Linked DNA regions of Homo sapiens: region 1 is linked to region 2. The links are contacts of gene promoters, found by promoter capture Hi-C in human tissues and cell types (Jung and others, 2019). All regions are on one chromosome and are shown on one strand. Each heading gives the region's core, a stretch centred on a gene start or on the middle of the fragment in contact. The rest is flanking DNA. Distances are from core to core; before and after follow the strand shown. Region 1 overlaps USP48 (ubiquitin specific peptidase 48). Region 2 holds the start of CELA3B (chymotrypsin like elastase 3B).

Evidence for each region. Contacts are between HindIII fragments. The study calls those that stand out against the background at their distance.
Region 1: a contact is called between a fragment that was not itself captured here and the fragment with the promoter of CELA3B in region 2, in 1 of the 25 tissues and cell types used here (dorsolateral prefrontal cortex).

The regions. Positions count from the first base shown.
Region 1 is chr1:21,682,911-21,686,161 of GRCh38, forward strand. All of the region lies in intron 25 of USP48 (ubiquitin specific peptidase 48), which reads right to left. Among named protein-coding and RNA genes, the nearest start is that of RAP1GAP, 15 kb to the left of the region's middle. The HindIII fragment of the contact is 4,086 bases long and covers 1-3,251 here.
Region 2 is chr1:21,975,699-21,979,139 of GRCh38, forward strand. It overlaps CELA3B (chymotrypsin like elastase 3B), which reads left to right and starts at 1,324. Exons shown (of 8, transcript NM_007352.4): 1 at 1,324-1,384; 2 at 2,671-2,756. The coding sequence starts at 1,342. The HindIII fragment of the contact is 22,565 bases long and covers 1-3,441 here.

The DNA of each region.
Region 1 (3,251 bases), core at 481-2,980, 290 kb before region 2:
GTGGGCACTGGTGGGATTGACTAAAGGGTGCCTGGGACATGAACCAGCTTTAAAAAAAATACAAACAAGGCCAGGTGCAATAGCTCACATCTGTAATCCAAACACTTCGGGAGGCCGAGATGGGCAGATCACCTGACGACAGGAATTTGAGACCAGCCTGGCGAATATAGTGAAACCCCGTCTCTACCAAAAATACAAAAGTTAGCCAGGCATGGTGTTGCATGCCTATAGTCCCAGCTACTACTCAGGAGGCTGAGCCAGGAGAATCACTTGAAGCCCAGAGGCGGAGGTTGCAGTGAGCCATACTGCACTTCAGCCTTTTGAGACTCCATCTCAAAAAAATAAAAAATAAAAAATAAAAGCCAAACATAATATTTGTACATATTTATGGGGAACAGCTTATATTTTGATACATGCATACAGTGTATAATGATCACATCAGGGTATTTAGTTATCTCCATCACCTTGAATATTTATTATTTCTTCTTTTTTGAGACAGGGTCTCAATCTGTCACCCAGGCTTGAGTGTAGTGGCATGATGACAGCTCACTGCAGCCTCCAACTCCCCGGCTCAAGCAATCCACCCACCTCAGCCTCCCAAGTATCTGAGACCACAGGTGCGAGCCACCATGCCTGGCTCTTTTTTTAAAATTTGTAGTAGAGACAGGGTCTCACTATGTTGCCCAGGTTGGTCCTGAACTCTTGGGTTCAAGTGATCCACTGCGCCCGGCCTATCATTTCTTTGTGTTGGGAACATTGCATTATCTTTTCTTCTAGCTCTTTTGAAATATACAACATATCACCCTACTGTACTACTGAATACCAGAACTTATTCTTTCTATCAAATTGTATGTTTGTACCCATTAACCAACCTCCCTTCATATGGCCCCTTTCCCATCCACTCATAACTACCATTCTACAGCCAAAAGATCAGCTTTTTTAGCTCCTACGTATGAGTGAGAAAATACAGTATTGTCTTTCTGAGCCTGGCTTATTTCACTTAACATAATGTCCTCCAGTTCCACCCATGTTGCTGCAAATGACAGGATTTCATTTTTTTAATGGCTGAATAATAGTATCCCATTGTATGTCTACATATAAATATAACATATCAAGGCATCTACTGATGGACATGTAGGTTGATTCCATACCTTGGCTGTTGTGAACAGTGCTGCAATAAACATGAGAGTGCAAATATCCTTTCGATACACTGATTTCTTTTCCTTTGGATAAATACCACTAGTGGGATTGCTGGATCATATGGTAGTTATATTTTTAGTTTTCTGAGAAACTTCCATACTGTTTTCCATAATGGCTGTACTAATTTACATTCCCACCAAAAGTCCGTATAAGAGTTCCCTTTTCTCTGCATCCTAGTTACATGTTATTGTCTTTTTGATAATAGCCATGCTAACTGATAAGATGGTATCTCACTGTGATTTTGATTTGCATTTCCCTGATGATTAGTGATGCTGAGCATCTTTCATACACCTATTGGCCATGTTTATGTCTTCTTTTGAGAAATGTCTGTTCAGGTCCGTTGCCTACTGTTTAATGAGATTATATTTTCTCCCATTCTACAGGTTGTCTCTTCAACTCTGCAGATTATTTCCTTTGCTGTGCAGAAGCTTTTTAGTTTAATATAGTCCATTTGGTTATTTTTGGTTTTGTTCCCTGTGCTTTGAGGTCTCAGCTAAAATCTCTGTCTAGACCAATGTTTGACAGCATTTCCCCCATATTGAATTCTAGCAATTTCATAGTTTCAAGTCTTACATTTAAGTCTTTAATCCATTTTGAGTTGATTTTAATATATAGTGAGAGACAGAGGTCTAGTCTCATTTTTCTGCATATCGATATCCAGTTTTCCCAGCAAAATCTAGTGAAGAGGGTGCCCTTTCCCCAGTGTATGTTCTTGGTGCCTTTGTCATAAATTAGTTGGCTGTAAATACGTGAATTTATTTTTGGGTTCTTTATTCTGTTCCATTGTCCTATGTTTTATACCAATACCATGCTGTTTAGGTTACCATAGCTTTGTAGTATATTTTGAAACCAGGTAGCATGATGCCTCCAGCTTTGTTCTTTTTGCTGAGGATTGATTTGGCTATTCAGGGTCTTTTGTGGTTCCATATGAATTTTAGGATTGTGTTTTTCTATTTCTGTGAGGAATGTCATTGGTATTTTGATAGGAATTGCATTTAATCTGCAGGTTATTTTGGGTAATATGGTCATTTTAACAATATTAATTCTTCTGATCCATGAGCACAGGATATCTTTCCATTTGTTTGCATCTTTCAATTTCTTACATTAGTGTTTTGTAGTTTTCCTTGTAGAGGTCTTTCACCTTCTTGGTTAAATTTATTCCTAAGTATTTAATCTTATTTTTTTTTGTAGCTATTATTATTGGAATTGCTTTCTTTTCTTTTTTTTTTTTTTGAGATGGAGTCTGTCATCCAGGCTAGAGAGTGCAGTGCTGCGATCTTGGCTCACTGCATCCACTGGGTTCAAGCAATTCTCCTGCCTCAGCCTCCCTAGTAACTGGGATTACAGGCATGCGCTACTACGCCTGGTTAATTTTTGTAATTTTAGTAGAGATGGGGTTTCGCCATGTTGGCCAGGCTGGTCACAAACTCCTGACTTCAACTGCTCCACTTGCCTCACCCTCCCAAAGTGCTGGGATTACAGGCATGAGCCACTGCGCCCAGCCGCTTTCTTGATTTCTTTTTCAGCTAGTTCTTATTGATGTATAGTAATGCTGCTAATTTTTGTATGTTGATTTTTGTTAGGTAAACATGATAATCACTACACTACAGAAACTCACTTTGTACACTGATTTTTGTATCCTGCAATTTTACTGAATGTTCATCAGTTGTTTAAGAGTGTTTTGGTGGCGTCTTTAGGTTTTTCTACATATATAAGATCATGTCAGCCTGGCATGGTGGCTCATGCCTGTAATTCTAGCATTTTGGGAGGCCCAGGTGGCCAGATCACAGGGGGCCAGGAGTTCGGGACCAGCCTGGCCAATATGGGAAATCCTCATCTCTAGTAAAAATACAAAAATTAGCTGGGTGTCATGGCACATGCCTGTAGTCCCAGCTACTCAGGAGTCTGAGGCACAAGAATTGCTTGAACCCAGGAGTGGTGGCTGCAGTGAGCTGAGATGGTGCCACTGCACTCCAGTCTGGGCAACAAAGACTCTAAAAAAAAAGCATGTCATCTGCAAAGAGGGACCATTTGACTTCCTCTTTTCCAAT
Region 2 (3,441 bases), core at 74-2,573:
TTCGCACCTGCTGTCGCCTCCCTTCAGAACGCGTTTCTTTCAGGGATTCCCGTTGCTGGCTTTTACTTATCCTCAGGACTCCATCAGATATGACCTCCTCAGCCCAAATGTCACTTTCTCTGTCCCCCTCATCTAAATGACTTACTCCATTCCTACCCCAATCACCCATTTTCATTTTCTTTTTTTTTTTTTGACACGGAGTCTCGCTGTCGCCCAGGCTGGAGTGCAGGGGCGCCATCTTGGCTCACTGCAGGCTCTGCCCCCTGGGGTTCACGCCATTCTCTTGCCTCACTCTCCTGAGTAGCTGGGGCTACAGGCGCCCGCCACCTCGCCCGGCTAACATTTTGTATTTTTAGTGGAGACGGGGTTTCACCGTGTTAGCCAGGATGGTGTCGATCTCCTGACCTCGTGATCCACCCACCTCAGCCTCCCAAAGTGCTGGGATTACAGGCGTGAGCCACCGTGCCCGCCCCATTTTCTTTTCTGTTTTGTTTGTTTGTTTGTTTGTTTTTGAGACAGTCTTGCTCTGTGGCCCAGGCAGGAGTGCAGTGGCATGATCTCGGCTCACTGCAACCTCTGCCTCCCTGCCTCCTGGGTTCAAATGATTCTCCTCCCTCAGGCTCACAGTAGCTAGGATTACCGGTGCTGGGATTATAGGTGCCCACCACCACGCCTGCTAATTTTTGTAGTTTTAGTAGAGATAAGGTTTCACCATGTTTCAAACTTCTGACCTCAATTGATCCTCCCACCTTGGCCTCCCAAAGCGCTGGGATCACAGGTGTGAGCCACCGCTCCTGGCCTAGACTCAAACTCTAGAAGGGCTGAGACCATGTATTTTTCACAGCTGTATCCCCTAGAACAGTGCCTGATACATAGAGAAAAAGTGCTCAACAAAAAATTTTTTGTGGAGGTGGGTACTAATATAAATCTCATGTTAGAGAGCAGAAAACTGAGACTCAGAGAGGTTAAGCCATGCGCCCAAAGTCGCAGAGCTTGGAGGTGGCAGAACCAGGATTGAACCGTGGTCTGCCCGGTTCCAGTGCCCCTGTTCTTTCCGAAAGAGGAGGTCTTGTCCTGACATGAGCTTTTCTTCCTGAACTCTTGTTATCAGTTGGCCACTCCACACCACCTGTGCGGCCACCTGTTGGAGGGAACGCTAGGTCCTTCCTTTGGCTGTCACTCCTCCATCTGCAGTGAGTGAGAACTGTGGCCTTGGACCATGGGAGACCTGCATTTCCACCACCTGTTCTGGGAGTGGGGCCCAGTCAGCCCCCTTTGCTTACCTTCTGCCCTATATTAGAGCCCCAGGTTCTGTGCCCTTTTCCTATCATCGCAAAACTCATGATGCTCCGGCTGCTCAGTTCCCTCCTCCTTGTGGCCGTTGGTAAGACCCCAACCTGTGTGTGTGCTCCCTGGGCTGCCCTAGATTAGGAATCCTTGAAATCTACCACTTGCTCTAAGTCCCATGACACCCTATGCCTGGTTCCACAGGAGGGGGTCTCAGCTTGTACCCGGGGGCATGACTGTGGGGGCTTTCAGCTTATGATGGAGCAGGAGAGTGGAGGGGAAGCCGTGGATGGAGAAAGACCCCAAAGGGCTGTGGTGGAAGTCCTTGATGGGGGCAGTAAACAAAGTCAAACGGTTAAGAGTTTGGGCTGTGTGGTTGGACTTCTTGGGTTGGAATTTCCACTGTTCTGCTTACCACTCCAACTCTCCTCTCACACTCCCCCTACCTGGCTCCATATTCTATGCTCTGGCCTTTTCCTGGTCTCTCTGCCATATTACATTCCAGCTCAGGGCCACCTCTTCCAAGCAGCCTCCCTTGACTGACAATAATGGTAACAGATAACATTGATTGAGTGCTTACTATGCCAGGCAGAATGTTTAGGGTTTTCCTTATACTTTCTCATGTAATTCTCACAACAGCCTCAGGAGATCAGTACTATCATTTTCCCCATTTTACCGACCCTCAAGGAAGTAAAGTAGCTTATCATAGAACAAAAGGCAGAGCTGCACTTAATGTTTTTATTTTTTGCTTTTTTTTTTGTTGAGATGGGGTCTTGCTTTGTTGCCCAGACTGGTCTCAAAATCTTGGCCTCAAGCAATCCTACCACCTTAGCCTCCTGAGTAGCTGAGATTATAGGCACATGCCACCATACCTGGCTACTTTATTTTATTGTACTTTATTTTTCTAGAGATGAGGTCTTGCTATGTTGCCCAGGCTGGTCTCAAACTCCCGGGCTCAAGCGATCCTCCCGCCTCGGCCTCTCAAAGCACTAGGATTACAGGTGTGAACCACCACACACAGCCCAGAGCTGCACTTTGAACCCAGGAAGTCCTTCTTTAAAGCCTCCACTCTGTATGACAATAGCTCTCACTTTTTGAGGGCTCATTGAGGGCCAGGCATTGTTCTAAGTGTATCAAGCTCTTCAATCCTCCCAATGAAGGAGGCCACATTTGAATCTCTATCCCTGGAGTCTTGGGATTCTGGAAAGCCCTGCTCTAGTTTAAATGTTCACTATTCATATGTGGTTACTGAGGTCCAGAGGGCGAAAGGGGCTTGCATGGGGTCACACAGCCACTTGAAGGCACGGCTTGGACTGGGACCCTGGCCTCCTCTTTGCTTTTGGGGACCCTCCCGCTGATTGACAGCTCTCCTCTCCCCTCTAGCCTCAGGCTATGGCCCACCTTCCTCTCGCCCTTCCAGCCGCGTTGTCAATGGTGAGGATGCGGTCCCCTACAGCTGGCCCTGGCAGGTAAGAGCAATAGCAGCTGCCCTCATTCCCACCGTGGGCTCTGGACCCTAAGCTCTAATGGCGCGGCATCCAGCCTTGACACCATTGCTCCCTTTGCAATGTCCACTTCAGCTTCCAAAGACCAGGCAGCCCTTGGACCATCTACTTCACGGGGAGGTTTTGCCCATTCCGTCTGTAACCCTCACTGGGCTATTTGCAACTTAAAAGTGGAATCGGGGGTGAAGGAAATGCTAAACTCAAGGAGTTGGCACACTGATGGTGGAATTTCAGGCACTGTGTTGAAGAAGTGAGATTTTGAGAGACTCATTTCTAGATTCCTAGGATGATACAACAGGGCTATGGGGTCTGAAAGCAATAAGGGAGTGAGGGATCTTGTAAGGCCAGTGGAGGGAAGCTCAGAAGGCTGGACTTGATGTGCTGTGGCTATTTAAATTTAATTAAATTAGGCCGGGCACGGTGGCTCACGCCTGTAATCCCAGCTACCCAGGAGGCTGAGGCAGGAGAATCCCTTGGACCCAGGAGGTGGAGGTTGCAGTGAGATGAGATCGCACCACTGCACTCCAGCCCTGGGCAACAGAGTGAGACTCTGTCTCAAAAAAAAATTAAATTAAATTATTATGACTATTATTATTATTGAGACAGAGTTTCACTCTTGTTGCCCAGGCTGAAGTGCAATGGCACAATC